Regions from separate parts of the Homo sapiens genome. Here region 2 is linked to region 1. Evidence: promoter capture Hi-C in 16 types of primary human blood cells and fetal thymus (Javierre and others, 2016). All regions are on one chromosome and are shown on one strand. The core of a region is centred on a gene start or on the middle of the fragment in contact, and the rest is flanking DNA. Distances in the headings are between cores, read along the strand shown.

Region 1 (4,045 bases), core at 540-3,039:
CTGGGCGCGGTGGCGGGCGCCTGTAGTCCCAGCTACTCGGGAGGCTGAGGCAGGAGAATGGCATGAACCCGGGAGGCGGAGCCTGCAGTGAGCCGAGATCGCGCCACTGCACTCCAGCCTGGGCGACAGAGCGAGACTCTGTCTCAAAAAAAACCAACCAAACAAACAAACAAACAAAAACATTTAAGTTAGATGAGCGTGGCGGCACATGCCTGTGGTCCCAGCTACTCGGTACGATGGGGAGGAAGGATCGCTTGAGCCTGGGAGGCAAAGGTTACAATAAGCCGAGATCGCTACACTGCTATCCAGCCTGGGCAACAGAGTAACATCCTGTCTCAAAAAAAAAAAAAAAAAAAAAAAAAAAAAAAAAGTGGAGGGGGAGGCGAAGAGGAGTAAAAGGAGATAAAGAGACAATGAACTAGGACCCTGAGGAAGGGGCATGAGCCTGGTAAGGGGCGGGAACCCACAGGCAGAGGACATGAGCCCCAGTGAGCCCAGGGAATAGAAGTGGTGGATGCCAGGCACTGTGGCTGGCTCAGGCTTGTAATCCCAACACTTTGGGAGGCTGAGGCGACCGGATCGCTTGAGCCCAGGAGTTTGAAGCCAGCCTGGGCAACATAATGAGACCCCGTCTCTACAAAAAATACCAAAAATAGTCGGGCATGGTGGTGTGGTGTGCACCTGTAGTCCAGCTGCTTGGGAGACTGAGGTGGGAGGATCGCGTCAGCCCAGGAGGTGGAGGTTGCAGTGAGCCAAGATCGCGCCACTGCACTCCAGCCTGGACAACAGAGAGAGACCCTGTCTAAAAAAAAAAGAAGGCCGGGTGCGGTGGCTCACGCCTGCAATCCCAACACTTTGGGAGGCCGAGGCGGGCGGATCACAAGGTCAGGAAATCGAGACCAACCTGGCTAACACGGTGAAACCCCATCTCTACTAAAAAGTACAAAAAATTAGCCGGGTGTGGTGGCGGGCGCCTGTAGTCCCAGCTATTCGGGAGACTGAGGCAGGAGAATGGCGTGAACCCGGGACGCGGAGCTTGCAGTGAGCGGAGATGGCGCCATTGCACTCCAGCCTGGGCGACAAGAGCGAGACTCTGTCTCAAAAAAAAAAAAAAGAAAAAAAAAAAGTGGGTCGAGGGGTGGGGGTGGGGACATTCATTCTAAGTTGGGAGGAATGAGCTTCTATAGGGAGCAGAGACCCTGAGCAGGAGTCCACCGAGGTCTGTGATCTCCAACGGGGGTGGGGAAGGCTTGGCCTGAATGAGACAGAGGTTAGGAAGCACAGATCTTGCACGGAGTGGAGGTGGGCCGAAGGGAGCAACCAAGAGAGGGAGTTTGGGGACTCCAAATCCAAAAGCCTGGGTTTAGTGGAAGCGGGGCTACCTGGTCCAGGGGACTTAGAATGTGTACAGAAGCAGGGACCGCAAGTACAGGGCCTGAATCCAAGTGGCAGTTGGGGACCCAGTGATGCGGTGACCCGTGTCCTGGGAGTGGGGTGATATTTGACTCTCTAGTTCCCCGTTAGGCTGGGTCTTCGAAGCTACGTCTCAGTTTCCCTCTTATTTCCCCCTCTTCCCACCGGGCCACGCAGGCGGGGCCCCAGAGACCGTGAAGCAGAGCTTGCAAAGTGACCCCGTCCACCGAATTCCCCAAGCTGAGTGTTCGGCCATAGCCCTTCGGGACTACAATTCCCAGGAGGGCGCACGGCAGCGACGTCGGCGTCGGCTGCGTAAGCGTCCACGGCGGCGGGAGCGCCAGGGGCGTGTTCTGCCCGCGGATTGGCCGGAAGCAGGCGCCGCTTCGAGGCCCGCGGAAAACGCGCGCCGAGACCCGCTCCTGCAGTATTAGTTCTTGCAGCTGGTGGTGGCGGCTGAGGCGGCATGGATCTCAGCGAGCTGGAGAGAGACAATACAGGCCGCTGTCGCCTGAGTTCGCCTGTGCCCGCGGTGTGCCGCAAGGAGCCTTGCGTCCTGGGCGTCGATGAGGCGGGCAGGGGCCCCGTGCTGGGTGCGCCCCTAGGGCCAGGGAGGGGAGGGGCGTGGTACGGAGGATGCGGGAAACGGGAGTCGGGATTGCACTGCACCAAGGGAGGGGATGTGGTCGTGGTGATGGCACCTAAAGAAGCAGTGATGATAGAACAGGGATGAATGGCAACTTTCACGGGCTCAGTGATTGGACCCCGGCTGCCAGAAAACTGACACCCCTTCTCCCCAGGCCCCATGGTCTACGCCATCTGTTATTGTCCCCTGCCTCGCCTGGCAGATCTGGAGGCGCTGAAAGTGGCAGGTGAGCCCGAGGTGTGCGTCTGGGGAAGGGATTCCTGGGTATGTGCAGGGGCAGGTGAGAACTGAAAGGGGAGGGCAGGAACTGGGAGAACCAGCTGTTCCCCTTCTCTTCCAAACCTCCTCCCAGACTCAAAGACCCTATTGGAGAGCGAGCGGGAAAGGCTGTTTGCGAAAATGGAGGACACGGACTTTGTCGGCTGGGCGCTGGATGTGCTGTCTCCAAACCTCATCTCTACCAGCATGCTTGGGCGGTGAGGGGTCCCCGGGAGGGGCAGCCAGCATGGGCTGACCAAGCTTTGTTCCTAGAATGAGATTAACTGGGCTCTGTTCCCCACCACAGGGTCAAATACAACCTGAACTCCCTGTCACATGATACAGCCACTGGGCTTATACAGTATGCATTGGACCAGGGCGTGAACGTCACCCAGGTGAGTTAACTGTAAGTTGTCCCCATTTGGTCATCTCAGGATAAAATGGGGACAAAACAGGAGTTCGAGACTGCAGTGAGCCATGATCATGCCACAGCACTCCATCCTGGGTGACAAAGGAAGCCCCCCAACTCAAAAATGGAGGCAGGGCGCAGTGGCTCACGCCTATAATCGCAGCACTTTGGGAAGCCGCGGCGGGTAGATCACCGGAGGTCAAGAGTTCGAGACCAGCCTGACCAACATGGTGAAACCCCGTCTCTACTAAAAATACAAAAATTAGCTGGACGTGGTGGCAGGCGCCTGTAATCCTAGCTACTCAGGAGGCTGAGACAGGAGAATCGCTTGAACCCAGGAGGCAGAAGTTGCAGTGAGCCAAGATTGTGCCATTGCACTCCAACCCGGGCAACAGAGCAAGACCCTGTCTCAAAAAAATAAAAAATAAAAAATAAACTAAAAATGGGAGACCAGGCGCAGTGGCTCACGGCTGTAATCCCAGCGTTTCAGGAGGCTGAGGCAGGCAGATCACCTGAGGTCAGGAGTTGAAGACCATCCTGGCCAACATGGTGAAACCTCATCTCTACTGAAAATACAAAAAATTAGCCCAGCATGGTGGCGGGTGCCTGTAATCCCACCTATTGGTGAGGCCGAGGCAGAAGAATTGCTCGAACCCGGGAGGCGGAGGTTGCAGTGAGGTGAGATCGCGCCATTGCACTCCAGCCTGGGGGACAGAGCGAAAAATAAAAATAAAAATAAAATAAAAAATAAATGTGGGCAAAAATGTGCAGTGTGCAGATTCAGCATCAGATACGTCTGGAGTGCCTCGGGCATATTCATTGCTACTGTTGATTTCGTGCTCCTGTTTCTGCCCTAAATGTGTGCCACACTGACGACCACAGTGTAGCCCCTAGTCCCGTCTCCATCTAATCTCTCCCTCATCCTAAAGGCTCAGTCTCCAGAACAAATCCTACATTGTCTACCTGTCACCTCTGTCCTAGCCCAGGACACCCCCCACTCCCTGGACACCTGCTGAGTGTCGTCTCTCGTCCCTCACCCTCCTATCCCCTCCAATCTGTTCCCCAAGCAGCAACAGAAGGTAGTCTTTTTGAAATGCACATCTCGACATTTAGTTTTCCGATCACAGTGGAAATTAAATCAGGAAAATTCACAGTCGAGTGGGGCAGAATTACATTAAATTACCAGAGAAAAACATAAATCAGCATTGCCTCGAATGCTCTCAATGAAAGAATGGACCGTTCTGAGAGAATAACAAGGCAAAATAACCTTGACGTAGGAATTGTATGCTGGGTATGGTGGCTCACGCCTGTAATCCCAG
Region 2 (4,045 bases), core at 791-3,290, 66 kb before region 1:
CACATGGTGTGGGACCTTATGGGCCACTAAGAAGTTTGGCATTGACTCCAGGTTATTAACGGGAAGCTGTTTGTTTTAAGCAGGGCAATGTCGTGGCCAAATTCATGTTTGAAAAGTACCCTTTGACGGCCAGGTGGAGATTTAATTGTCAGTCAGGGTAGAAGCAGGGAAACTAACAAGGAGATTGGGGGTGTAACCAGTTGAGAGATGACAACATCCTGGACTCTGGTGGAGGCAGAATGTTGGGGGAGAAGTAGTCAGACTTGAGGTTTTTTTTTTTTTTAGACACTCAAGACTCCTCTGTCTCCCAGGCTGGAGTGCAGTAACCCGATCTAGGCTGACTGCAACCTCCGCCTCCCAGGTTCAAGCAATGCTCCTGCCTCAGCCTCCCGAGTAGCTGGCACTACAGGCTTGCGCCACCACTGCCTGTTAATTTTGTTTTTTTTAGGAGACAGGTTTTCACCATATTGGCCAGGCTGGTCTCAAACTCCTGACCTCAAGTGATCTGACTGCCTCGGCCTCCCACAGTGCTGGGATTACAGGCATGAGCCACCACATCGCACCAGGGATGTATTTTGGAAGTAAACCAGTAAGATTACTTGGGTGAGAAAAAGAAATGAATTGATTACATGTCTTTCTTGTCTCTCTGAGCAGCTGGGATGGGGAAAACTAGGAAAGGAGTAGGTTTAGAATGAACAAATAAAGAATTTCATTTTGTCCACAGTGAATCTGAGTTGCCCACTGGAAATCCAAGTGTAAACATCATGACAGTAGCTTGTTTATGTGAGTCTGGAGCCCAGAGGAGGTTGGCATTGATTTGGAAGTCACTGTCTCAAGGGTGGCATTTAAAGCTGTGTGAGGGCTGGGCATGGTGGCTCATTCCTGTAATCCTAGCACTTTGAGAAGCCAAGGTGGGCGGATCACTTGAGGTCAAGAGTTTGAGACCAGCCTGGCCAACATGGTGAAACCCCATCACTACTAAAAATATAAACCAATTAGCTGGGCATGGTGGCAGGTGCCTGTAATACCAGCTACTCAGAAGGCTAAGGTAGGAGAATCGCTAGAACCCAGGAAGCAGAGATTCTCCTGCCTCAGCCTCCGGAGTTGCTGGGATTACAGGTGCCTACCACCATGCCCGGCTAATTTTTGTATTTTTAGTAGAGACGAGGTTTTCTCACGTCTCAAAAAAAAAAAAAATTGGCTGGGCGCAGTGGCTCACTCCTGTCATCCCAGCACTGTGGGAGACCGAGGCGGGTGGATCACAAGGTCAGGAGATCAAGACCCTCCTGGCTAACACGGTGAAAGCCCATCTCTACTAAAAATACAAAAAATAGCTGGGCATGGTGGCAGGCGCCTTTAGTCCCAGCTGCTCAGGAGGCTGAGGCAGGAGAGTGGCGTGAACCCCGGAGGCGGAGCTTGCAGTGAGCTGAGATCGCGCCACTGCACTCCAGCCTGGGCGACAGAGCAACACTCTGTCTCAAAAAAATAATAAAGGCCGGGCACGGTGGCTCACATCTGTAATCTCAGCACTTTGGGAGGCTGAGGCGGGCAGATCACAAGGTCAAGAGACTGAGACCATCTTGGCTAACACGGTGAAACCTCATCTCTACTAAAAATACAAAAAAATTAGCCAGGTATGGTGGCGGGCACCTGTAGTCCCAGCTACTCCGGAGGCTGAGGCAGGAGAATGGCGTGAACGCGGGAAGTGGACCTTGCAGTGAGCCGAGATCGCGCCACTGCTTTACAGCCTGAACAACGGAGCGAGACTCAACAAAAAATAATAAATAAAAATAAAATAAAATAAAGAGATGCTGCAGAGTGAGGATGCTGGCAGAGGACAGTCCTCAGGTGGGATGAGCTCCATCCAGCATACAGACCCAGAACTTGGGCGCTGCCAGGGTCAGGGACTGGGAGGGAAACAGGAGGAATTGGGGCACTTCCCGGGCAGAGATGAGGGTGTTGGCAGCCAATGGCTTCTCTTTCTCACCAAGGAACAGGCAAGGGTCTCAGCAGTGAATGGGATAGAAGTTTGAGGAGGGAGAAAATACCACATAAACACTTATTAAGGTAGCAGGGGGAACCAGAATTGTCTGGATCATCAAGTGCCCATTGGAGATTTGTGTTCAGAAGAGGGGAGCAAGGGCGGGCGTGGTGGCTCATGCCTGTAATCCCAGCACTTCGGGAGGCTGAGGCAGGTGGATCAGAAGGTCAGGAGTTAAAGACCAGCCTAGCCAAGATGGTGGAACTCCATCTCTACTAAAAATACAAAAATTAGCTGGGCATGGTGGCTCACGCCTGTAATCCCAGCACTCTGGGAGGCCGAGGTGGGCGGATCACAAAGTCAGGAGATTGAGACCAGCCTGGCTAACAGGGTGAAACCCCATCTCTACTAAAAATACAAAAAGTTAGCCGGGCGTGATGGCGGGTGCCTTTAATCCCAGTTATTCGGGAGGCTGAGGCAGGAGAATGGCGTGAACGCGGGAGGTGGAGCTTACAGTGAGCCTAGATCGCGCCACTGCACTCCAGCGTGGGTGACAGAGCAAGACTCCATCTCAAAAAAAAAAATACAAAAATAAGCCAGGCACGGTGGCTCACGCCTGTAATCCCAGCACTTTGGGAGGCTGAGGCGGGCAGATCACCTGAGGTCGGGAGTTCGAGACCAGCCTGACCAATATGGTGAAACCCCGTCTCTACTAAAAATACAAAAATTAGCCTTGCGTGGTGGCCGGCACCTGTAGTCCCAGTTACACGGGAGGCTGAGGCAGGAGAATTGCTTGAACCTGGGAGACGGAGGTTGCAGTGAGCCGAGATCATGCCACTGCACTCCAGCCTGGGATACAGAGCGACACTCCATCTCAAAAAAAAAAAATTAGTTGGGCCTGGTGGTGGGCGCCTGTAATCCCAGATACTCGGGAGGCTGAGGCAAAGAATTGCTTGAACCTGGGAGGCGGAGGTCACAGTGAGTCGAGATTGTGCCACTGTACTCCAACCTGGATGACAGAGCGAGACTCCGTCTCCAAAAGGGTGAGGAGCAAGATGGGAATACTCTTCAGGAGTGTTCGGCCCTCAAGTGCAGTGATACTAAAGAGCTAGAAAGCCATACCTATCATTTCAGTGCTTGCAGAGACTGAGACAAGAGGATCACGTGAGGTCAGGAGTTCAAGACCAGCCTGGGCAACAAAGGGAGACCCTTTCTCTACAAAAAACAAACAAAATTAGCTGGGCATGGTGGTGTGTGCCTATAGTCCCAGTAAGTTGGTAGGTTGAGGCAGGAGGATCATTTGAGCCTAAGAGTTTGAGGCTGCAATGAGCTATGTATGAGATGGTATCTTTTTTTTTTTTTTTTTTGAGACTGAGTTTCACTCTGTCACCCAGGCTGGAGTGCAGTGGTGTGATCTCAGCTCACTGCAACCTCTACCTCCTGAGTTTAAGCGATTCTCCTGCCTCAGCCTCCCAAGTAGCTGTGATTACAGGCGCCCGCCACCACATCCGGCTAATTTTTGTTTTGGGGGGGTTTTTTTTGTTTGTTTTGAGACGGAGTCTTATTCTGTCGCCCAGGATGGAGTGCAGTGGCGCAATCTCGGTTCACTGCAACCTCTTCCTCCCGATTTCAAGTGATTCTCCTGCCTCAGCCTCCCGAGTAGCTGGGACTCCAGGTGCATGCCACCATGCCCGGCTAATTTTTAGTATTTTTAGTAGAGACGGGGTTTCACCATGTTAACCAGGATGGTCTCGATCTCCTGACCTCGTGATCCACCCGCCTTGGCCTCCCAAAGTGCTGGGATTACAGGCGTGAGCCACCGCGCCTGGCCTGTATTTTTTTTTAGTAGAGACGGGGTTTCAACATGTTGGCCAGGCTGTTTTCAATCTCCTGACCTCAAATGATCTGCCTGGCTTGGCTTCCTAATACACTGGGATTACAAGTGTGAGCTACCGCGCCCGGCCAAGACGCTATCTCTAAAAGAAAGAAAAAAAAAGCTGGAAGTAACCAGAGTGGGGGATTTTGCCAACAGCAAGGGGAAAGGGAGTGTTTGCAGAGGGAACC

What was found. The method cuts DNA at HindIII sites, captures the fragments that hold promoters and counts their contacts. A CHiCAGO score of 5 or more calls a contact.
Region 2: a contact is called between a fragment that was not itself captured here and the fragment with the promoter of RNASEH2A in region 1, in 8 of 17 cell types (naive CD4 T cells, total CD8 T cells, monocytes and 5 more). The highest score is 7.3, in naive CD4 T cells.

The regions. Positions count from the first base shown.
Region 1 is chr19:12,804,795-12,808,839 of GRCh38, forward strand. RNASEH2A (ribonuclease H2 subunit A) reads left to right here and starts at 1,790. Exons shown (of 8, transcript NM_006397.3): 1 at 1,790-2,006; 2 at 2,214-2,285; 3 at 2,412-2,535; 4 at 2,625-2,712. The coding sequence starts at 1,880. RefSeq lists a cis regulatory region at 1,037-2,069 and enhancers at 1,514-1,643, 1,844-1,893. The HindIII fragment of the contact is 3,433 bases long and covers 1-2,576 here.
Region 2 is chr19:12,738,902-12,742,946 of GRCh38, forward strand. All of the region lies in intron 2 of GET3 (guided entry of tail-anchored proteins factor 3, ATPase), which reads left to right. Among named protein-coding and RNA genes, the nearest start is that of GET3, 3.4 kb to the left of the region's middle. The HindIII fragment of the contact is 4,185 bases long and covers 1-4,045 here.